Regions from separate parts of the Homo sapiens genome. Here all the other regions are linked to region 2. The links are contacts of gene promoters, found by promoter capture Hi-C in blood cells and fetal thymus (Javierre and others, 2016). All regions are on one chromosome and are shown on one strand. The core of a region is centred on a gene start or on the middle of the fragment in contact, and the rest is flanking DNA. Distances in the headings are between cores, read along the strand shown. Region 1 overlaps MSR1 (macrophage scavenger receptor 1). Region 2 holds the start of ZDHHC2 (zDHHC palmitoyltransferase 2). Region 3 overlaps MSR1 (macrophage scavenger receptor 1). Region 4 has its middle 140 kb from the start of SGCZ.

The links. Contacts are between HindIII fragments. The CHiCAGO score rates a contact against its expected background, and 5 or more counts as called.
Region 1: a fragment that was not itself captured here is called in contact with the fragment with the promoter of ZDHHC2 in region 2 in 1 of 17 cell types (M0 macrophages); the score reaches 5.7 in M0 macrophages.
Region 3: a contact is called between a fragment that was not itself captured here and the fragment with the promoter of ZDHHC2 in region 2, in 2 of 17 cell types (M0 macrophages and M1 macrophages). The highest score is 6.3, in M0 macrophages.
Region 4: a fragment that was not itself captured here is called in contact with the fragment with the promoter of ZDHHC2 in region 2 in 5 of 17 cell types (total B cells, naive B cells, total CD4 T cells and 2 more); the score reaches 10.3 in total B cells.

The regions. Positions count from the first base shown.
Region 1 is chr8:16,133,858-16,136,843 of GRCh38, reverse strand. All of the region lies in intron 8 of MSR1 (macrophage scavenger receptor 1), which reads left to right. Among named protein-coding and RNA genes, the nearest start is that of MSR1, 57 kb to the left of the region's middle. The HindIII fragment of the contact is 154 bases long and covers 1,614-1,767 here.
Region 2 is chr8:17,154,572-17,157,731 of GRCh38, reverse strand. It overlaps ZDHHC2 (zDHHC palmitoyltransferase 2), which reads right to left and starts at 1,250. Exons shown (of 13, transcript NM_016353.5): 1 at 879-1,250. The coding sequence starts at 1,008. RefSeq lists a silencer at 432-1,791. The HindIII fragment of the contact is 4,757 bases long and covers 1-3,160 here.
Region 3 is chr8:16,112,772-16,115,652 of GRCh38, reverse strand. The region is part of intron 9 of MSR1 (macrophage scavenger receptor 1); the gene reads left to right. Among named protein-coding and RNA genes, the nearest start is that of MSR1, 78 kb to the left of the region's middle. The HindIII fragment of the contact is 3,802 bases long and covers 1-2,881 here.
Region 4 is chr8:15,374,121-15,377,258 of GRCh38, reverse strand. No RefSeq gene overlaps it. Among named protein-coding and RNA genes, the nearest start is that of SGCZ, 140 kb to the right of the region's middle. The HindIII fragment of the contact is 7,465 bases long and covers 1-3,138 here.

The DNA.
Region 1 (2,986 bases), core at 441-2,940, 1.0 Mb after region 2:
GGATCACAAGGTCAAGAGATTGAGACCATCCTGGCCAACATGGTGAAACCCTGTCTCTACCGAAAATACAAAATTTAGCTGGGTGTGGTTGTGCATGCCTGTAGTCCCAAATACTTGAGAGGCTGAGGCAGGAGAATCGCTTGAACCCAGGAGGCAGAGGTTGCAGTGAGCTGAGATCATGCCACTGCACTCCCGCCTGGAGACAGAGCAATACTCCTTCTCAAAAAAAATGCAGCATTCCATTAACACAATAGATGTGTTCCTTAATAGAGTGTATAGCTAATACAGGCATACTGTGGACATATTGTGGTTTCAGTTCCAGACCAAGGCAAAAAAAAAGCAATTATCACAATGAAACATGCCAGACAAATTTTTTGGTTTCCCAGTGCATATAATAGTTATATTTACACTACACTGGAGTCTATTAAGTGTTCTTTAATTTTTAAAATACTTTATTGCTAAAAAATGCTAACAATCATTTGAACCTTCCGGAAGTTGTTATCTTTTTCTGGTGGAGGGTCTTGCCTCCGTGTTGATGGCTGCTTACTAATCAGCGTGATGGTTGCTGAAGATTGAGGTGGCTGTGGCAATTTCTTAAGACAACAATGAAATATGCCACGTTGATGGAGTCTTCTCCTCATGAGAGATTTCTCTGCTGCATGCAATGGATGCTATTTGATAGCATTGACCCACTTTAGAACTTCTTTCAAAATTAAAATCAGTCTTCTCATACTCTGCTGCTGCTTTGTCAACTAAATCTATATGATACTCTAAATCCTTTGTTGTCGTCTCAACAATGTTCACAGCATCTTCCCTTCAGGAGTAGGTTGTATCTCAAAAAAACCCTTTCTTTGCTCATCCATAAGAAGCAACCCCTAATCCATTCAAGTTTTATCGATTGCAGCAATTCAGCCACATCCTCAGGCTCCACTTCTAATTCTAGTTCTCCACTTCTCTTATTATTTATACCACATCTGTAGTGACTTTCTCCATTAAAGTCTTGAACCCCTCACAGTCATTCATGAGGGTTGGAATCAACTTCTTCCAAATTTCAGTTAACCTCAATACTTTGACCTTCTCCCATGAATTATAAATTATTTTAATGCCATATAGGATTGTGAAACCTTTCCAAAAAGTTTTCAATTTACTTTGCTCAGACACATCAGAGGAATCACTCTCTGTGTCAGTTACAGCCTTACAAGATGTATTTCTTAAGTAATAAGACTTGAAAGTAAAAATTAATCCTGGATCCATGGGCTACACAATGGATATTGTGTTAGCAGGCATGAAAACAACACCAGTCTTTCTGTCCATCTCCATCAGAGCTCTTGGGTGACCAGGTGCACTCTCAATGAGCAGTAATATTTTAAAAGGATTTTTTTTCTCAGCAATAAGTCTCAACAGTAAGATTAAAATATTCAGTAAACCATGCTGTCAACAGACGTGCTGTCACCCAGGCCTCATTGTCCTATTTCTAGAGCACAGGGAGAGGACATTTAGCATAACTCATAAGGGCCCTAGAATTTTCAGAATAGCAAATGAGCATTTCCTTCAACTTAAAGTCACTGGCTGCATTAGCCCCTAACAAGGGAATTAGCCTATACTTCAAAGCTTTGAAGTCAAGCATGAACTCCTCTCTAAGTATGAAAGTTATAGATGGCATCTTTTTCAACAGAAGCTGTTTCATCTACATTGAAAATCTGTTGTGTAGTGTAGTAACCTTCATCAATTATCCTAACTAGATCTTCTGGACAATTTTCTGAAGCTTCTATATCCACACTTGCTAAATCATCTTGTACTTTTATGTTATGGAGATGGCTTCTTTCCTTAAACCTTATGAACCAACCTCTGCTAGCTTCCAACTTTTCTCCTGCAGTTTCCTCACCTTTCTCAGCCTCCATAGAATTGAAGAGAGGTAGAGCCTTGCTCTGGACTTGGATTTGTCTTAAGTGAGTGTCATGGTTATTTTGATCATATATGAAGGCCACTAACTAAAACTTTATATCGGCAATAAGGTGGTTTGTTTTCTTATTATTTTTGTGTTCACTGGAGTGGCACTTTTAATTGCTTTCAAGAACTTTTTCTCACATTTACAACTTAGGTAAATTTCATACTTTCAGCCTGTCTTGACTTTCAACCCGCCTTTCTCACTAAGGTTTATCATGTGTAGCTTTTGATTTAAATGAGAGATGTGCCACTCTTCCTTTCAATGGAACACTTAGAGGCCGTTGTTAAGGTTACTAATTTGTTTAATTTCAATATTGCTGTGTCTCAGGGAATAGGGATGCCTGAGGAGAGGAAGAGAGACAGAAGGGGGAACAGCCAGTTGGTGGAGCAGTCAGAATACACACAACATATATCAACTAAGTTTGCCATCTTTTACGGGCATGGTTTGTGGTTCCCCAAACTAATCACAGTAGTAATCTCAAAGGTCACTGATTGCCATAACAAATGCAAGGGGTCTTCAAAAAATCATGGAAAATATGTATTAGGAAAACACTATACATGGATTTCAAAAATTCTGCACTAAAACAAGCTAGCTTATTATAACATGTCTGAATAGAATCTAATTTGATGCACTAAGAACAATAAGGTATCTATTTAAAAAGAGCCCCTATCAGAGCCACATAAATATTGCTAAAATGGAACCAAGAACACACATGAAATTTATGATGAAACTTGTTTGGAAGAATGGTGAAATCACCGATACTTTATGAAAAGTTTATAGGCACAATGTCCCAAAGGAATCAGCAGTTGACAAAAAGAGAACTCAGTTTTACAAAGGGATAAGAAAATATTGAAGATGAACCCTGCAGCAGCTGACTATCCACGTCAATTTGTGAGGAAAAAAATACATCTTGTTTGTGCCTTAATTGAAAAGAACTGAGACAGCAGAACAACAGCCAACACCACAGACATCTCAACTGGTTTGGCTTGCACAACTGTGACTTAGAAATTAAGGTTGAGTAAAGTTTTTTCTAGATGG
Region 2 (3,160 bases), core at 1-2,500:
TTTTAACATCTTTTTCTGATAACCCAGATCAGTTTTCATAAAACCCCTGAAGGTAGAAACCAGCTTACATTAAGCGACATCATTGTACTCCCTACTTGTGCATAATAATCAACTTTTTAAAAAATTTTAATCTTCAGCATTAAAAGTATCCTACCCACCAATTCAGGAACCTCGAACTCGGACTGGAGCCACTTCGCTCTCTGGATGTAAAAACCTCAGACGATCACCTCTTTTTTTCTCTCCCTACTGTTCAAACACCTAAATTATGGTTTAGTGTGTTGCACATGTCCTCAAAAATACTTTCTAGTAGCTCACCTCCTCCACATCCTTTTAAACTAGAAAAGTGTCCAACTGGCAATCCTCAAATCATAAAGGCAGCAAAAACGCCCCTGAGCGCTGTCACAAATTTTTAACAAGTGCATTGACGCCAACCAGCAAGGGATCCAGCTCCGCCGCCAAGGCCAGCACCCCCGCGCGGGTCTGGCGCAGCTCGGGGCCGGGCCCAGCTCAGCCCTTCAGCCCCCGGCGCGCCTCGCCGGCCTCGGCCTCCCCTCTCCACAGCGGTCCCGGGGACCTTCCGCCCCTCTAGGGGGTGTGGCCGAGGCGGCGGCGGTGAGCGGAAGGCGGCGGGAGGCTCGGCGGCGAGTGCGGGGCGGAGGCGCCACCTTAACCCGAGAGTTGGGAGGGGAGGGCGAGGGGCGTGCGCGTGGAAGAAGCTGCCCCGAGGCTGCTTTTAGCGGCGGAGCCGGCGGGACGCGGCAGGTTGGCAGCGCCCGGGGCGCATCCGGGGGGCGAGAGCGGAGGAGCGGCTGAGCGTCCCGGGACAGTCGGGGTGGGCTGCGCTGCGCTGGGGGCGCCGCGGCGGGGGGCGCACTCACCTATGCACAGCTGGATGGCGTAGGCGTAGTAGGACCAGCCGAGCAGGAGGGTGATGAACACCACCGGGATCCAGTACAGCACCCGCCGGCACCGCCGCCTGGCGCTGCTGCCCGGGCCCGAGGGCGCCATCTTCCAGCCGCATCCACCTGCCCAGCTCCGCCGCCGCCCGCGGGCCTGGCTCCGGGGCGGGCTGGGCGGGCCCGGCACCCCTGGCTGGACGGGCTCCTGGGCGGCGGCGGGGTGCGCTGCGGCCACTGCCGCCGCCGTGGCGCTAACTCCCCATCCCGCAGCCCCGAGCCGGCGCGGCGGACTCCCGGCTCCTCAGCCCGGCGGAGGCGGAGGCGGCGGCTGCGAGCGGAGGCCGAGGAGGCGGAGGGGGGCGGTGAGGCGGCGGCGTCGGGAGGCTGCGCTCCGCCCCCGCCGTTCCCCGCCGCCCGGCCGCCTCCCCTGGCGTGGCAGGCTGCGCCCTCGGGCGGGCTCTGCGGGGATGCGGGGCCCTCGCTCGGGCCACCTCGCGGGCTCCCACCGTGGCCCCGCCGCCTCCGGCTCGGCCTCTGGATTCCGGGGAGGCGGGGGCTGCTGGGCGCAGGCCCCCGGGGCGGAGCGGGCGGTGGCGGCCCCTCCCTAGGCGCCCGGCACCCGGGGCAGTTAGGTCGCGAGCGCTTCCGCGCTTGGCGCAGGGCGGGGGTCGGAGGCGAGGCCGGCGGAGCAGCTGCTGCGCTCGGGACTCCGCGCCTGCCGCGACCCAGGCGCCCTGAGAAAGTCTGCAGCACCGAGGCCCGCGTCCCCGCAGCCCGCGTGGAACCCTCGCGCTTCAACTTGCGGGTCCCTGGGAGCCCGCGGGGGCCGCAAGGAGCCTCCCTTTACTACTCGGGCTTTCGGGGGAAGCAGAAATGCACAGCGAAGAGGGGGTGCCGAGCCGGCGTCTGGCATGGGAGGGGCTGTGGAGAGCGAGGAAGAAGCATTTTTGGCTGTGAATCCAGGCACCTCTGGAGTTAGAAACACAAGTTCTTTGCTCTGAGAATGTTGATGCTTTGGATAAATGATTGTGACAGGGGCCGTTCCCACTGTCCCCTCCCTCAAGTACGGTGGTTCCTTCCACCAACTATTTATTCTTTTCCTCAACCCGCTCCTCACTACGGTGTTTACTTTCGTGGTGGCAATTCCAAACTTAGCAGATAGCTGACTCCAAAGCGGTTCCCAAAAAACACCGTAAGGGAACCTAAAGGTAGTCAGCCCAAACCTCTGATTTTATGATTCACGAAATGGAAAATAAACAAATGCCTCCTTTGCTTTTCCTTCATCTGATTATGAACGCACCTGATCCACAGGGAAACATTTCAATCAATGAGTGTGTGTAAATTATGTGCATCACTACTATACATAATAGGCACAATTTTTCTTAACATTAGTGAATATGTGTATTTACACCACACAGCAACCACAGTGAATGAAATTACTTCTTATTCATGTGTAGAAGTAAAAAAAAAATACTGATTTACATGAATTCAGTCAAAGAAATTTAGCTCTGGTGTCTGCGATTATCTTTCTGTGACTGGATTACACAACAAGCTAATCTCTCCCGAAATAGCTACTATGTTACAGCCCCCCACCCCACATCTCTTTCCATTTCTCTTCAAAAATGCATAGAAAATGTCAGTCAAGTTTCTGTGGGACTTTAAATAATTGAAAAGAGAGACATATTATGTCCCAGTGAATCACTTGATTTTGCTGTAGCCTTTTATATTCTCTGTGGATATTCTGTATATTAATGTAAAAATAAAACTTCTCTGGATTCCTTAATGTTTTCCATGAATATTAATCCTGTGTTCCCCCCCAATCAGAAGAGAGTAAAAAACAGGAATTAAAACTTCCTCCTGGGACTGAAATACCCTCACAAAGAGAAGCAAATCAGTGACTGAAGGTCAATAGAGACCATCAAGGTATGAAAAGGAAGGAATCGGATTTTCCATACTGGAAACGGTGGAGAAAGTGCAAATAGTGCCTCTGTAGATCCTGGATGCGACGATGCCCTGTGCTCTTCCTCCTCTCACAGTCCTACAGGGTCTTGAAATCGGAAATGGAATAGCATTCTGCCCAGTTTTCACATCATCTACCCTTTTGGAAAAGTATGCAGGTGTCATATCTTTGAAGGAGCTACATTTTTATTACTCATCTAAGATGTTGTTTAATTGTTCCTATTTATAATAAATATTTGTGAAATATTTTCAACTTTTTTTTGTTATTGCCATTTTAAGGATACTACTATTACTGGGTTTTT
Region 3 (2,881 bases), core at 83-2,582, 1.0 Mb after region 2:
AAACAACTAAAGAATAATTATGAGAATTTTAAAATAATAAAGCAAAATGAGCTGAGAGAAAAAAATAGAACCAACATTATTTGTTCTGAAGAAAATGATTTGAAAAGTAAGTTTTATGATCTACTTCACTGGATATTGTATTTTAAGAGACAGGCTTACATTATTCACTGATTGGGGATTAGACATGGCAAACGAGGTTTTTATGGAAAGCTATTTAAAACATTCCTGATTTTTTCACTCCTCCACCTTAAATTCACAGTTTCACTCAAGAGGAAAAGAAAAAGCAATTTTAAATACAGAGTAGAGACAAGAAAAGAAACTTAGAAAAATGAGTGGATGAGTAAAGAACTAAAAGAGAAACATGCATTGTTTTAATTATTTATCCTTCTCTTAGGAAAGTGAGAAGAATCAGGTTCATATCATATTGTACATCATTACCAAAATTGAAACAAAAAGAAAACAATTTTTTTTTCGAGATGGAGTTTCGCTCTTGTTGCCCAGGCTGGAGTGCAGTGGCACAATCTCGGCTCACCGCAACCTCTGCCTCCCAGGTTCAAGCGATTCTCCTACCTCAGCCTCCCAAGTAGCTGGGATTACAGGCATGCACCACCACACCCAACTAATTTTTTGTATATTTAGTAGAGACGGGGTTTCTCCATGGTGGTCAGGCTGGTCTCGAACTCCTGACCGCACGAGATCCACCCACCTCAGCCTCCCAAAGTGCTGGGATTACAGGCATGAGCCACTGTGCCCAGCCAGAAAACAATTTAAATGAACCCTCTTTTTATAATGCACCATTATAGAAAGAATATAATTTTTGGACAGTCTCCACATATTTTTTTCTGGTTTTAAATAGCAAACCTGGCTTAGCAGATAGAATCCTTAGTTTTAAGAACAATTAGTTTTGCAGCTGCAGGTAAAATGACTTATAGGAATAAAGTTTCAAGCATGCTCCTTTAAATAGGTTCTCTCATTTGGATGCACCTTTTTTTCTGACTAGACAAAACAAGTTTAATTAAGGAAGCACTGAGGGGCATCTACTGTTTATCAATGCACAGGGCAGGGAAAGGAGAGTGAGTCACTTTTTGCCCCGTATCCAGGCTTTCCCAGCTATTGTGCCTGTGGTCTCCCTGCAGCAAACTTGGATGAGTTTTATCATACAACAGTGGTACCTCCAAGAATTTGTTCCAGGTATATCTGAGCCTGTATGGATGCTGATGAGGGAAGTAAGATCTGGAGTAACTATTGCTTCTTCTCCTGAGTTTATAGTGCTGAAACTCCAAACCTGAAAAGAGAAACAAAAGTAATATATAAACATAAATGCCATTTAAAAGTTATTCTTAGCTGTCTTTTCTTTGCTTTTTTATTACCACTTTTACATACCATAATCAATTTTCTATGTGAAATTTTCAAAAAAAAAATGTAAGGGTAAACAGAAGGCAATCAAAAAATGCACCTCTATACCTCTGAACTATCCCTTAATGAATGGGAGTAAATATAATCTCAAAGATAAATAAATATATCAAAGGGTCACAAGTCAAATTTTTACATACTGCTCCTTGCATGTTGAATGTTTTAAAATGTAAACATTTGAATGTTAAATATTATGGAAAGTAGTATAGGGCTGGTCCATACAGCTGGGTAATCACAGAAAAATAGCATATTTTTTTCATAGAGAAAATAAGTAGGGCTAGCAGAGGTCATCAAAGTTGTACAAATTTACGTAGTCATTATGGTGGTTGGGGGTGGTTGGGGGTGGGTGGGAGTGGGAAGAAGGGTCAAGATTCATGCCTTAACCTTTCTCTCATACCATGCTTTCTCCACCAGATGGAACATCCTTCCAAGTCCTTTATACTTAAGATCTTCATTTCTAAAGAGCTTGCTTCTTCAGAATCTTAGTATCATGAAATATTAAAGGTAGACAAAGTCTTAAAGCTATGTTAGCCTTACTCCTTTATTCTGCATATCATAAAATTGAGGAAAAATGAGTGGTTTCTCTATAAGCACAAAACTACAATCCAAACTATAGGCTATATTGACCCATTCTTCTCTACTTTGATTCCCAAGGTGTTTTCAACTTTAATTTACATTGTTTTTCTCAATGGAGACACTGTTCACAAAACACTTCCCAACTAGGCTTAAAAGTCATACAAATTTATGTCACTCAGTCATGACTAGAAATAATGAAAATACACATTCAGGCACTTTTAACTATTAATGATATTTGCTCTCCCATTTATCTATTCAGCAGCTGATCTCAAATCTCATCATTTTATAATATATCTGGATGATGTATGAAACTGATTACCTTTTATTTTTCATGGAAATGCTGGTAAGATTAAAGATACCCAAATCCCCCAAAGAAATATCAGTATCTTTCATTTTTTAAAAAGAGGTGAAGAGGAGGTCAGGCACAGTGGCTCACCCCTGTAATCGCAGCACTTTGGGAGGCTGAGGTGGGTGGATCACAAGGTGAAGAGATCGAGACCATTCTGGCCAACATGGTGAAACCCCGTCTCTACTAAAAATACAAAAATTAACTGGGCGTGGTGGTGCACACCTGTAATCCCACCTACTCAGGAGGCTGAGGCAGGAGAATCATTTGAACCCAGGAAGCGGAAGTGCAGTGAGCCGAGATCACGCCATTGCACTCCAGCCTGGGCGATAGAGGGAGTGAGTCTCTGTCTCAAAAAAAAAAAAAAAAAAAAACTTAAAAAAAATATATAATCAATATCAATCCCTACAACCCTCAAATTATAAAGGAAATCATAGATATATATATGGCTAGGTATATAGGTGGAAAGATGAGAGAGAGAGAAAGAGAGGAAGAGGATTAGAGATTAAAAACATATCTAAGAAACACACGTAATTTTTGTATAGC
Region 4 (3,138 bases), core at 293-2,792, 1.8 Mb after region 2:
GTTTCTTGGTGATTATGTGTTTTAGGATACTGTTTAAATCAGACGTAGTCCTAATCTGGGTTCTTTTAAAATAGCAATGAATGTGAAATTTCATGATACCAAGAAACCCAAAGATCAGTCAAAATGTAATTATGCTGCTCCTTCTTTCTCTATTCAAAATAATATCACCAAGTATCAATCAACAGTGAAATGGATAAATTGTTGCACATTGATATTTTAAATTATTATACACAGTGAAAATGAAAATGAATGAAAGCTATACGTAACACAAGACAAATATAAGACACAAAATGCTACATGCATTATGATTCTATTTACTTAAAAGAAAAACAGGAAAAGCTAAATATTTTTGTAATGCACACTTCAGTGTTAAAGTTTATACTATATATAAGGTGAGTAAAAAAGCAATCATTACAGAATTGGAGAGTATCTCTAGGAGGAAGGAGTGTATGGTAGATGCGTGTGTGCTGGTACTGGTTCTTTTCTCTTGTTTACTGGATGTGGCATGGATATCTGTTTATGTACTTTTTTGTAAGTATTAGGTTGAGCCATGAATAATTATTGATATTTTAGTGCTTTTGACACCATAGCAATTTTTGCTTGTGACAAAATAGCAATTTCATATGGGTTGACCTAATAAGTTACATTTCATTAATTAAAGTTGTATTACTTAACATAGTATCTATCTATATAGATGCTTGTATAGATGAATAGACATGGCTCAAGGGGCTTGAAGCAATGACCCCACAGTAGCAATCAGCGCATCTAACACAATGATCTTGGTCTCTACCAGATTTATTCAATAAAAGGAACAAGGGTGCCTTGGAGCAATGGCTGATTCCAGGATGGAAGCAGGAAATATACAAGATGAGCCTGGAGTATTTTGTAGTGCCAGAAATTAAGGCAGTACTCAAAAGCACACATACACACACACACACACACACACACACACACACACACACATATATACACAAAATGACGGAAGTAAGTCTAAGAGGCATAGGAGTCAACTGAAACAGCTTCCAAACGCCAAAGCTAAAATAATTTGAACAAAAACAACAAAAACAAAGTTGTATTGGATTTTAACATAGAATTAAAATAAATGTCCAGGATCTAAATGGATACAAATAATCAAATAAATGGGGGAGAAGAGACAAATATCCCATGCAGAAGAATTACAAATAATTTATGTAGATACTCCACTCTCAAGAAGGTGGAACATGACTGCCCACTCATTAAGCGCTGCATATTAACACTCCCTCAGCCAGGTGACCAAGTCATATCAACAGTGTTAAGTCATGTTTTTGGTTAGTATACCTTTGATATGTTGTGATGAGAATATACTTTCTCTCTGTAATCTTCCTCCTCCAAACTCATGAGCCCTATTTATGAGAAAAAGATCAGATAAATCTTAATTAATAGATAATCTACAAAATACCTGACCAGTACTAACCAAAACTGTCAAGATTATAAAAAATATGAAAAGCCTGAGAAACTATCACAGCTAAGAGGAGCCTGAGAACAGATTGTGACTGAATGGATTGCATTACTCCAAAAGAGTTCCTGGAACAGATAAAGGACATTAGGAAAAAAGACTAATGAAATCTGAATAAAGACTGGACCTTAGTTAATGATAATGTATCAATATTGATTTATTGCTTTTGACAAATGTACCACACTAATGTAGTGTTAATAACGAGAGAGTCTGCGTATTGGGTTTATGGGAACCCTCTGTGTTATCTCCTCAATTTTTATGTAGATCTAAAACAGTTTTCAAATAAAAAGTTTATTAAAATGAAACAATTCTTTTTTTTTTTTCAAATATTTAAACAAATTAGTATTTTTCGCTTTTGGGAGTAGTATGAAATGCATGCTACTCATAACTGGCCATATTTTTCAAAGAAGGAAGTGTTTGCATCTCAGCTGAAGTATTAGACTTTTGATTGGCTGTGGTAAACTCCAATTGAAACTCTATTATCATGCAATTGGCAGAACACTTGCTGTTCCTTGTAGGTAAAATGAAACGGTTCAGTTCAATTAAATCGTGGCTAAAAGGCTTGATAACATGGAACCTATTAGAGTAAATTATATTTATTCTGAGAGAAAGACTGACTGGCTGAGTGGGCTTGTCTGTGATACTGCAGTTGGGAGAAATAGAGTTATTTCAGTGTCTCTTCAGTGGGTTGGTTGTATTGGGTAGAAGTAAACATTCTTACAGGCTCAAAGCCTCTGTAAAAGTATCCAGCCAGGGGGGCCAATGCCAGTTTTTCTTACTTGCAGATGGTGTTTTGCATCCTGATGTGTTGAAATATGCCACAAGTTTTAAAATTTATACTAATTGATATTCTAGCTTCTCAAACTACTGCTAGAAGGTTGGGAGGTGATGTCTCAGCCAGGTGGCCAGAGTTTACCATATTCGATGTGACTATGTGGACTGAAACATTCCTAGATATATTTGTATCTGTGAAGGACATACAGTGAGGCTGAAGATGCTTACATTCAGAAAACGGATATGGCAGAGGGTAAATATACAAGTAGTAAGCCCCACAATGTGTGGATTAATGTGGTACACAATTCTTACACACAGAAATAGTCCATCTTCACTCTACACTGGGTCCTACAACTGAGTCCTGTGCTTGCTTCAAGGCAACGCTGTTTTAAAAGGACCACAGCCACAATGACCTGTGTTAAAAGAAAGCACAGGGAGAGGTGGGAGAACCGAGAACCAAAATAGCACACAAGGAAACGTAGGTGTGTTTAGATTGAGGGGAAGCTATGGTTTCTATTCTCAAGTTTTTAAGAGTTGTCATGAGGAAGAAGGCATAAACATTTTATATTGTCCCAGATACATCAAAGTAGTAATGGGCTAACTTAGAAAAAAACAAATTTTGGAATGCTGTAAGGAGGCAATTTCTAATAGAGCTTTTGGAAGACAATTAGGCTAGTTTACAAGATGGTTAGATCCTTGCCACTGCAATTTTCTAGGAAGAGGCTAAACAACCTCTGGGAAATGCTGAAGAAGAAGGAAATCACCCAGTGTATAGCTAGGCTTTTGCGCAAAACAAGAAGAGAAGAGGCATGAGAAGTACAGTGTAGGGGACTAGAAGGCAAGCATTCTAGAAGGCATGGTCCAGAAGT